Regions from separate parts of the Homo sapiens genome. Here all the other regions are linked to region 4. The links are contacts of gene promoters, found by promoter capture Hi-C in blood cells and fetal thymus (Javierre and others, 2016). All regions are on one chromosome and are shown on one strand. The core of a region is centred on a gene start or on the middle of the fragment in contact, and the rest is flanking DNA. Distances in the headings are between cores, read along the strand shown.

The links. Contacts are between HindIII fragments. The CHiCAGO score rates a contact against its expected background, and 5 or more counts as called.
Region 1: a fragment that was not itself captured here is called in contact with the fragment with the promoter of LINC02295 in region 4 in 7 of 17 cell types (naive CD4 T cells, naive CD8 T cells, M1 macrophages and 4 more); the score reaches 8.6 in naive CD4 T cells.
Region 2: a fragment that was not itself captured here is called in contact with the fragment with the promoter of LINC02295 in region 4 in 3 of 17 cell types (naive CD4 T cells, total CD4 T cells and naive CD8 T cells); the score reaches 6.8 in naive CD4 T cells.
Region 3: a fragment that was not itself captured here is called in contact with the fragment with the promoter of LINC02295 in region 4 in 8 of 17 cell types (M2 macrophages, M0 macrophages, M1 macrophages and 5 more); the score reaches 14.0 in M2 macrophages.

Annotation. Positions count from the first base shown.
Region 1 is chr14:99,217,323-99,220,228 of GRCh38, forward strand. All of the region lies in intron 3 of BCL11B (BCL11 transcription factor B), which reads right to left. Among named protein-coding and RNA genes, the nearest start is that of BCL11B, 53 kb to the right of the region's middle. The HindIII fragment of the contact is 6,562 bases long and covers 1-2,906 here.
Region 2 is chr14:99,163,665-99,166,364 of GRCh38, forward strand. No RefSeq gene overlaps it. Among named protein-coding and RNA genes, the nearest start is that of BCL11B, 110 kb to the right of the region's middle. The HindIII fragment of the contact is 1,913 bases long and covers 376-2,288 here.
Region 3 is chr14:99,279,361-99,282,060 of GRCh38, forward strand. It overlaps LOC105370660 (a long non-coding RNA gene), which reads right to left. Exons shown (of 3, transcript XR_001750881.2): 3 at 651-2,377. Among named protein-coding and RNA genes, the nearest start is that of BCL11B, 8.5 kb to the left of the region's middle. The HindIII fragment of the contact is 8,266 bases long and covers 1-2,700 here.
Region 4 is chr14:98,134,672-98,137,371 of GRCh38, forward strand. It overlaps LINC02295 (long intergenic non-protein coding RNA 2295), which reads left to right and starts at 1,316. Exons shown (of 3, transcript NR_184268.1): 1 at 1,316-1,526. All of the region lies in intron 1 of LOC105370655 (a long non-coding RNA gene), which reads right to left. The HindIII fragment of the contact is 6,410 bases long and covers 1-2,700 here.

The DNA.
Region 1 (2,906 bases), core at 366-2,865, 1.1 Mb after region 4:
TACACGCATGCACATATATGCACATATACACTCTCACGAGTACAAATATACACACACATACAGACACACACACACACACACACACACACACACACGGCCTTTTATTACGGGTCTGTGCCAGGCCCAAGGACCCTGGCAGAGGCAATGGGAAAAACCAGGGAGAAAATTACATGAGGCAATGTTTGGCTCCAAATGAAAAAGCCGTGGAATGTTTTCCCTCAAGTCTTGGTTATTTCTTGCAGGTCCGCTCAGACCCTGTCAGGTCCACCTTATCCAGGGGGAACCCCCACCCCCTGGCCTCTGAGCTGAGCCAGCTGCTGTTCTCTCAATGCTACTGGCTTCCAGACTGGGGGTAGCCAGGACACCCCAGGCTCCAGCACCTACAGAAGCCACGGTAGGCTGGTGGAACACCTCTCCTCAAATGCATGCTCAGACAAATGGTGCTCAGAACTGGGCTCCTTAACCTCTGACCCCGCCGCCTGCCACCACCCCGTCCCCACAGGCTTCAGGTGTGCTCTGACTTGGTGACATCATCACATGCCAGTGGGCTCCGAACTCCACTCCCTGAAAACATGCACCATGTCTTAAAAGATGCAAACTAAAAATATTTCTGGCTTCTCAGAGCCAGTTTACAAAAATAATTATATTTTCTTTTAAAATCTGGATTATAGGCAAGTGTGTGTCCAGTTATTTTTAGCTCCTATTCAACTCTGTTAATTCTCATAATAATCATTGCAGGTTTTTTTTTTTTTTTTTTTTTTGAGACAGAGTCTCACTCTGTTGCCCAGGCTAGAGTGCAGTGGCGCGATCTCAGCTCACTTCAAGCTCCGCCTCCCAGGTTCACGCCATTCTCCTGCCTCAGCCTCCCAAGTAGCTGGGACTACAGGCACCCGCCACCATGCCTGGCTAATTTTTTTTTTTTTTTTTTTTTGTATTTTTACTAGAGACAGGGTTTCACCATGTTAGCCAGGATGGTCTCGATCCCCTGACCTCGTGATCCGCCCGCCTCGGCCTCCCAAAGTGCTGGGATTACAGGCATGAGCCACTGCGCCCGGCCACAGATTTTTTTAAGCCATCTCCCCGCCCTATCGTTAATAGTTGTGTTCTGACTCAGCATGGGGGCAGAGCTGGGGGCCACATGTGACCACACTGCCTTCCATAAACACAGAAGTCTGAGTGCTAGCCGAAGGGCCAGGCATTTCAGAATCACCACATTCCTGAGAAAAAAAGGAACATGTGTCCATCTTGTCAAAAGCCAGCTCCAGCTTCAATGCAGGAGACATTTGGGGAATCCCCTGTAAGTGCCTGAACCTGTCCCAGACCTCAGTTCACCGAGACCAGCTGGGTTTCCTGCCCTGGAAGGGCCTAGAATCCAGCAAGAGGCATGCAGAGAAGATTGGATGGAGCCACCTGAAATAAGCTGTCCACAGCTAGATCCCAGGACCTGTAAATGTGAGCTTATTTAGGGGCAAGGTCACTGCAGGTGTGACTAAGTGAAGGCTGTTGATGAGATCATTCTGGATGGTCTAGGTGGGTCCTGAATCCAAAGACAATTGTCTTTTTTATTTTAATTGTTCAGAAGAGAAGTCAAACCCAGAGGAGAAAGCTGTGTGCCCACAGAGGCAGGGAATCAGGGAGCACGGCCCTGCCGACCCCTCCATCTTGGACCTGTGGCCTCCCAAACTGTGAGAAAATACATTTCTTTTCTTTTTTTTATTTCTTCTTTTTTTTTTTTTGAGACAGGGTCTCACTGTGTTGCCCAAGGCTGGAGTGCAGTGGCACGATCTCGGCTCATGGCAGCCTCAACCTCCCTGGGCTCAAGGGCTCCTCCTGCCTCCACCTCCCCAGTAGCTGGGATTACAGGTGTATGCCACCATTCTTGGCTAATTTTTTTAGAGAATGGGTTTCGCCATGTTGCCCAGGCTGGTCTTGAACTGCTGGGCTCAAGAGATCCACCCACCTCAGCCTCCCAAAGTGCTGGGATTACAGGCGTGAGCCACCGCACCCGACCACAGAATCAATTTCTTATTGTCTTAGGCTACCCAGTCTGTGCCCATTTGCTACGGCAGCCCTGGGACACCAATACAGGACAATAGAGAGAAAGCACAACCACTAATAAGAATCATCGCAATTACCATCCCGATATACAAAGGACCCAAGGCCACTCCCTTGAGATTCCCTGTCCCCAGTCCCTCCCCGCCCAGCCAAGGAAGCAAAACCAGTGTGATGATTCCCATCAGGCAGGGAGACCCCACAAGGCTCAGAGAGGGCCAAAGCGTGCACAGGACACCGAGTGAGCTCTATCTCGCTCCTAGGGATTCTGATTCCAAATACGGGGCTCCTTCTGCTAAGTCACACTCAAATCAACACCCTGAAGACACAACAGAAAGAACAATGAAAATTGTCCATTTGTAGAATTTTCTTCCCCAAGCTATCAAGGTAGCTAAATGTTTAGCTTTGTTATAAAAAATAAAGATAAAAAATAAAAATTAAAAAAAAAAAAGCTGTCCTGGGAGACAGAACTGAGAACTGCCATGGGCAACCATTTCCAAGACAAAGGGGATTCAAGACCCTCAACTAAAATATACTGAAGGTGGTAGCCCCCAGCAGTCCAGTGGTGACTATAGGGCCACACCTAGGCTGGCTGAGGCTGGATTCAAACCGCCCTCAGGTTTATTACCCACCTAACTTGGACCAGTTGTTGCCACATCCCTGAGAGGCAGGTTCCTTGGCTATCAACTCCAACAGTCCAAAAAACACTAAAATTACCCAACAGTCAGATAAGGATGCGGAGAAATGAGAACCTCTGTGCACTGTTGGTGAGAATGTAAAACAGCGTAGCCACTATAGAAAACGGTTTGGCAATTCCTCAAAAAATTAAATATAGGATTACCCTTTGACGCAGA
Region 2 (2,700 bases), core at 82-2,581, 1.0 Mb after region 4:
TATCCCTCCCCTGCATTTCCTTCCCACACTTTCGTGTGATTCATTGCATCTTCATGAGACCACAAGTAGGTAACTAACCCCGTAATGTGTCCATCATGAACACCTCTCCAATACCATGTATGTTATTCTGACAACAGTATTTTTGATAAATGCCTGATGTTCCATTGCATTGACATCCTATCCCTTGCTTATCTAATCCCCTGTTACTGGGCATTTTCTTTATTTCCAGTTTTTGCTATTGTAAATATAGATACAGTGAACATCTTTGGGGCTAAATCTTTGGCTGTATTAGAGCTTCCTTAATTATTTTAGAGATTAATAAAAAAAAAAAAAGATGGCTCGTGATGTGCTTAGTGTTGGTTATGCAGAGAGCAAAGCTTTTCCACATCATCCAGGGGTGATTGCATACAGACCTCCATGGGCGTCAGAAAATCACCATTAGCCAAGCAAATGGCTCCAGGGGATGGAAGATCCTGGCGAGACATCTGTGAGAGTCCATCCAGCACACATTCATTTGAATATTTTCAGTTGCGAAGACAACAAGACTAACTTCCTGAAAATTTGGAAAAGGTAGGAGAAATACCTTCCTGAAGAGCCTTTCCTCCCAAGCATCTGCATCTGATACACATCCATGTCCACACAACCTTCAGCTAGATCATTTAGACTCACAGCCTACGAACATTTTCTCTTCTTTTAAAAGTTAACATTATCTCATACACAGTTTTCCTGTTGCTACCAAAGTCTTCATCCCCCTCATTTTCGATGTGTGTAAATACTCCATAATGAACAGGCTCTTCTTCACTCATTCACTCCTTTACTGTTGAACACGGAGGCAGCTTCCAAAATTTCGCTATCATGCACGTCATTCCCTGGCATATTTTGTCTGCATGAAAAATAAGCAGTGTATCTACGTTTCTTTTTTCCCTTTGGCTAAAAAGAATCTTAGACTCAAATTTATGATTTAAGTATAGCAACGTATGGCCGTCTTCTCTAGGCAATATTTTTGCATAGGTGTAGACATCTTACTAGAGCTTTTAATCTCTCTGATCCTGATATTTCGCTGCTTGTTTATGCTTTATTACATTTCCTATTGGTCTGCTCACAATCTTGAGGAATGAAGAAGGATGCAAATTATTAACAGAGTATTTAATGAAATGCTGAGATGGCCATCCTCCTCTCTCTAGGAATCGCAAATAAGTATTCTTAGTATGGTTTCCAAAAATGACGTCACCAGATCAAATAGTCAGAAGAACATCTGGGCCCTTGATACACACCACCCCAGAGCTTTGCAAAGGGAAGAGGGAAAAGTGGTTGAAACATGATACAGGTAACAAAGCTGAACCCTCAATTAAACCTCCAAACGCAGGCAAGAGGGCTGGGTTGTGCCAAGTGCCAAAGGTAGTCAGAGGTCTGAGGTGATACCTGCGGTCTGCCCCCTCATTTTTTTCTTTCGCTTACCAACCCCTCAGCTCTACACGATTGCTTCCCCGCTGCACCATAGGACAAGGAGCAGATGCTTAGTAAGATCTTGCTGATGGAAAGAAGTCGGACTAGGAAAAGAGAAGGCAGGAAGGAGGCACTCTCCCTATCCTCAGTAGCTCCTAGTTTTGCTGGGAGGCCAGCCTAGCCTTTGCAAACGGCAGCCTGCAGTGCATTTTCAGTCAAAAAAACAAAAAGCCCTTATGGGGCCTGGCCAATGAGCAAATGCATCAGCATCACTTTCTTGTTTTGAGATTTGGATAGGTAGGGAACCACCCACATCCTCTAGACAGCACCTCTGGGCTTACATCTTGGGATGCATCCTAAACTGGGCATTACTTATTTTAAATATTTTTAATTATAAAAGATCACAGAAACACAATTTCATTTTCGTTATGGTCTATGAGAAATAAGCCACAGTAAAGGGTGACAGTTTGGGCTGTGGCCTGGCACAGTGGAGCAAGTGCTGGTTTTCCTTGTCTGTAATGAAGGGCATGAACATTTCCTCCAGCCTCCTGGTAGACCCTATGCTCCTGTCCAGCAGACTGAGCCCTGATTGTCTGTTCACTGCCTCCCCAGCTAATCAGGAGTTCTTCCAGGGCAGGTACTGCACCCCCTGGCCTAGGAGGGTGAGGCATGCAGTAGGAACTCCAGGAGAGTTAAGGGAATAAACAACTAAGCAGATAGATAGATGGATGTCCCATCCTGCCCACTGAAGGGCAAACTCTGGGAAGGCAGGGGGGAGTCGTACTGACCCCTATCTTCCCAGCAGGGTCTGTGATACTGCAGAAATGTTTATTACACAAACAAGCTTGTGGCTGGCTGGATGAATAAGTGGCTGTATGGACAAATGGATGGATGTACTACACGCTAGTGTTTGGGAGACTGTTTCTGATATGGTTTGGCTGTGTCCCTACCCAAATCTCATCTTGAATTGTAGCTCCCATAATTCCTATGTGTCATGGGACGGACCAAGTAGGAGGTAATTGAATCATGGGGGCGGGTCTTCCCCATGCTGTTCTTATGATAGTGAATAAGTCTCATGAGATCTGATGGTTTTATAAAGGGGAGTTCCCCTACACAAGTTCTCTCTTGCCGGCCACCATATAAGACGTGCCTTTTGCCTTCCACCATGATTGTGAGGCCTCCCAAGCCACATGGAACTGTGAGTTCATTAAACCTCTTTTTCTTTATAAAGTACCCAGTCTCGGGTATGTTTTA
Region 3 (2,700 bases), core at 65-2,564, 1.1 Mb after region 4:
GTAAAATTACAGCTACACCGGTATAAATAAGTTATGCTGCAGTTGTAAAATGGAAGAAATTTTGTTGTAGCAATTATGTTCAGCAAGATGACAAAATAAATTTCCAGAGCTGTGCCTGCAGTAACCTGGGGAATTTAAACCTCATAATTTCCATTCATTTCAGATAATTTGGAGTAATTTCTATATGTAATAACTTTGTAATGAAAAACACAGCGGTACTGAAGTGATTTCGCTCCGTTTTTTTCTCCTATGGTATACATGGCACAAAATAAATGATAAAAATAATATTTCCTTTTTATATGTGTGTGTGTTGAGTAATTCCTTCAGTAAAAATCATAAACTAATACCCAGACTAAATCTCTGTCCACAAAATGAAAAATAAATTGAGTTAAAGAAAGTGAAAAAGTATGAAGGGCTTTGGATGCTTTATTGTGACTTTATTGAATTGTTTTGTTCCCATGCTCCCTCTGATCCCTAAGGGTTACAGTTCCCAAGTAAGGGGCAAATGCAGGGGAGCCCCAGATGGCTCAGAGGAGGTAGCAGGGGGACCCCCAAAGGCCAGGAAACCCTCGCCAGATGGTGATTTCTCCCCAGAAGCATAAGAGACTCGTTCTCCTCTTGAGATGAGCATCTTTAACGGTTGATTTCACTGCGACTGGAAAGGACCTGGTAGGCTGGTCAGTGGTCCTGTCAGTTCTGACATATTTCCTCCTTTAATTAAAGACAAGGCAAGGTGGAGCACCAGTGCCCTGCCCGACCTATGACGGTGACACCTGCCACTGATGTATGCAGCCCCTGAATGCCACGATTTATTCATCGGAAGCTCCCACTGAGCTGTGAGAAGGTGACAGGAATTACAGCAGCTGCATTAGCTCCCAGATCCACGCGATTAGCCTCTGCCACTGCCACGGTGCACATCAAGGGTTTCCTCAAAGTGAAAAATCGAGGCGTCATTCCCTAAAACCTGCCTGCTAGTAGTCACAGCTAGTGACTGTCAGTAGCCTCCCCACCAGCCATGAGGGCTGCCTGCTGCCTTGAAGTAGAATGGCTCCCCTGCCCTGCAAACCCTGGCCTGCTACATGCTGCCAGGGTGCCCATCTGGAAGCTCAGGCTTTGGCTGAGTCGGCTGGGGAAAGGGCATTCATTTCTCAGGCTCTGTGGTCTCCCTGTCAGATGGGCTTCACCGCTCTGTATAAGCGGTGATGAGTGGGTCTTAGCAAAGCGCCTGGCCCGGTCTCTCGCCATGCAGCAGTCGCATCATAAGCATGGCTGTGATTTGTTCCTTCAACAACACACGCGGATGGGACGCCTGCTGTATGCCAAGCACACCATGGGGGACAGGGCCCAAAGATGGCAATATTGTGAGGTGGTGGTACTGAGGTTCCAAGTTCAGGCAAGCCTGAATCTGACACACCACCCCAGCTCCAAAGAACAGAGCAAGGGAAAACAAAAGTTGATGACATAGTTCAGCAATTATAGTAGTGAGAGTACAGCCCATCACATGGACTCATGGCCATGTGTCCCAAGTGCCATGGGAGCAAAGCAGCAGGGCTCAGGGGTCCTGAGCACAGATTGCAGAATTCTTCCAAGACCCTCAAGACCTACTCATTCAAAGAGACACTCTGTCTAATTACATTGTGAGGCATTTATCTTATCTAATCCTCAGAAGAGAAAGACTTTCATCCCCCTTAGACAGGAAACCCGAAGTCAGCCACCACGAGGTAGAGCCCAAATCACCCCAGGTCTGTCTCTGTGTATAACCACTATGCCGTCCTATACCCAGGTTGGATTTCCAGCCATCCTGCAAGCCAATAACAGGCAGCTGAAAACATCACCAGATGTGGAACCAGAACAGCAAAGACAAAGTCAGTGCTGGATCGAGACATGGAGGAAGGAAGAGAATTACAGAGAAACAAAGTTTGCATTAAGGACACAGTATACTCAGTTAGTAGAAGAGATTTTGTTTGTTTGTTTGTTTGTTTGAGACAGCAAAATCCAACAAGACACACCACGGTTATGAAACCAGATAATTGAGGCAGAGAGAAATGGGGTGGAGAGAGTGGGGTAAGACAGACGTTTCTGCTGGTAAAATTTGAAACAGACAAACAACTCATGTTGGGACAGAGTTTTAGTGTACAAAGCCCTTTTGCTTCCCTGACTTGAGTTTGTCCTCCCAGCAGCCTGTGAGAAAAGCAGGACAGGGCACACACAGCTTGATATACGCCTCCGAGATCGCCAGGGTCAAGTCTCCGCTGCGCCCGCTGCTAGCTGCAAAAGCCTTCATGCGGTTTCTCTTCTCGACATCCCAGGTCCTCCTCTATCAACGCCTCTGTGAGCATCTCATCAGATGACCTCTCAGAAAGCCCCCAGCACAGGCCTGGCACAGAGGAGGCATTGAATAAATGATAGATATTATTATGGAGGCGTTTTACTCATGAAACAAGAGATTCACATTCAACTCAGTCTAAGGTACACACGTCAATATTTCAGGAATGAAATGGGAAATTTCCCCCAGATTTCACTGGTACATAATCGACTAATATTGATGAAGCATCTTGTCTCAGCGCTGCTGTAACAAAATACCTGAGACCGCGTAATGTATACAGAATAGATATTGCCGGGCGCAGTGGCTCATGCCTGTAATCCCAGCACTTTGGGAGGCCAAGGCGGGCAGATCACCTGAGGTCAGGAGTTCAAGAC
Region 4 (2,700 bases), core at 66-2,565:
AATAAAAATAACAACTACAACAACAAAAAAACAGAACATGGAAGTAAAAAAAGAGAGTGATTTTCCAGCAGGTTCCTGCAGAGCCCTTCTCTTGATTCCTGAGAGGTTCAATTAACGGATGCAAGTCATAAAACAGTGCATTTTCTCTCTGCTATGATGCATTGTTTTTAATCTCACTGCCTTGTATTATATCACATTCCTATAATTCTTCCGACAGGAAAAGGCTTGTTTCATAAAAATATAGTCCCCAGCATTTGAAATATAAGTTCACATGCAAGCAACATATATATCACCAAGCTGGCAAACTAACTCACTTACTTAATCCACTAAACTTCAGGTGCTTTCTATATTATGTGAAATGGCTTGAAACAGGCAGAAGCTGCCAGGACCCATCACGGCTTCTTTGCTCAAGAGAGACAAGAGGAGAAGGGGAGAAGGGAGCGGGGGGAGTGGAAATTCCCTCAGTGGATTCCACAATAACATGCCTTTCATTATCACCCAGTGTCAGGACACTGGGTAATGTTCATTGTGCATGCACAATAAATTACTATTTACCTGGCAGTGCTTTTGATAAGCTCGTCTCCTCACCCCCTTTCTGTCCATGCAGCACAGAGCAGCGAAACCCCTTTGCCTATAATTCTTATTAAGGTGATACCTTTTCTGAATAAGAAAGTACACACTTCCAAAGCTGGCACTCTCTGGGGTTTTTAAGGGACATTGTTTTTATTGGTTCCCTTTTATTTCTTCCACCCCACTGTGTTTTAATGCTATAGTGACTTCTGTGTATACAACTCTCATATTGAAATGTCGGCTGCAGATATATGCAATATTAAAGAGCGCTTATGAATTTTTGACATCTAATTAGTCGCTACCCTGTTAACATGTCAGGACTCAGAGGGATTAGGGAGGCAGCCCTTTCTGAATAAGTTACAGTGAGGCTCCTGTCCTTTTCATGTATTATTCTTTAATGTAGGTGGTGATTATTTGGCTGTGATTAATTGATGAAGCCCATTGGTCTGGCAAGTGGTGCCGAATTCACCATTCCTCACTTTTATTTCTCTCAGTAGGGTTCTGCCACTTAATCGGAAGGACCTGCTTCCTTCCAGGCAATCTCTCTGTGCAGCGTTCTGGGGCAGAGGGACTGTTCTGGGTGACCCACCTAGACCCTTTCACAGCTCTTGGCTCCCTGGTCAGCAGTGGGTTTTGCATCCTGTCTTCTTGGACAAGCCCTGTGCCCTGTGCCCCCTGGCCAGGCATGTCTGAAATGCAGTGGCACCCCCTATACAAAGGCTTCCTGTTGCTCCCCTTTTCTCTCATATCTGATTTTCGAGCCTTGCTTTCTGGTACCTTTAACACCTGTAGCTCCCTGCCTGGCTCAGTTTACTTCTGGGTTCAGCTGCCTGCCAAGACGCCAGGTGACAATCGGGGCTCTCCAAGGCCGCTCCTGCCATTGTCTCCAGCTGTGGGGCCCAAGAAACCACACACGTGAGATGCACAGTCTGATATGGCCGGCTCTGCCCCTCTGGGTAAGTGATACCAAGCTCTAAAAAAAGGCAACAATGAGAAGCGGATGTTGGGGAGAGGGGACCTGCTGGCTGCTGCTTTTGGGCACTGCCCCATGGGTGTCAAACACCCTGCTGTGTGCAGGCAGCTTCCGCCTCCTAGGAACTCTATGCCCACACAGTCCTCCCAGAAGCTCCTGTCCCAGCTCCCTGGGCTCCCACGGAGGAATCCTCTTTCACAGTGGGTTCTTAGGAATGTCAGATCTGATAGTCTTGGATTTGAAGCTGGGCAAGATTTTTAACATTTTAGATAAAGCAAGCAGGGAAATGATTTGTGAGTATAGCTCTGTGTTTAAGCACAGGGAGAGGGAGGTGTTTTCTGCTTCACCGCATGACTCCCCTTCCATACACCCACATGTGCATGCAGGCACACACATGTATACACACAGGTGCATGCATCCATACACACAGACCCACACATGTACACATACAGGCCCACACACACCCATAGATAGACACACACACTCCCAGGTACACATGCAGGTGCACACACCCATGCACACACAGGCATACACAGGTACACACACAGACACACACTCTCTCTCCCACAGCTTTCTAGACAAAGGCTCTGCCATCAGACTTTCGTACCCTGGCCTCCTGGTTTTATGAACAAATAATTCCTTTTTTTGCAAAGCAGAATTCCCCGCCCCCATTATAAACTCCCACCATTCAAATCTATAATTGGGGGAGTAACAGAGCTGTGGCCGACTTATCTTTTTAAATGCACCGACCCTGGACGAGCCATCCTAAAAATGTGTAATTATAAATAAACCTTCACCTATGTCAGCTGGCAGGGTTTTTAATTACTGCACTTGATGTCAATCAAGGCCAGCTCTGGGTATGCATGTTAGGGGGCAATTTCAGAGGAATTTTGCGGACATAAGCTGTTTGCCTTATTCTATTATCTGCATTTAAAAGGGGAGAGGAGGAGATAAGGCGACAGCCAGGAGGGGAGAGAGAAAGAGCAGCTCATGGAAAGAAAATGGTGGGGGAGGCATTTTACCGAGGCTGCAGCATCCTGCTGGGGCTGGGGAGGGCAGATACTGGACATCTCTCCTAACCCAGGGCCCCACACTGCTGGCCCCCTCTTTGTCTCCCAACCCTTTCTTGCAGGAAGATAAGGAGGGAGATGGGAGTG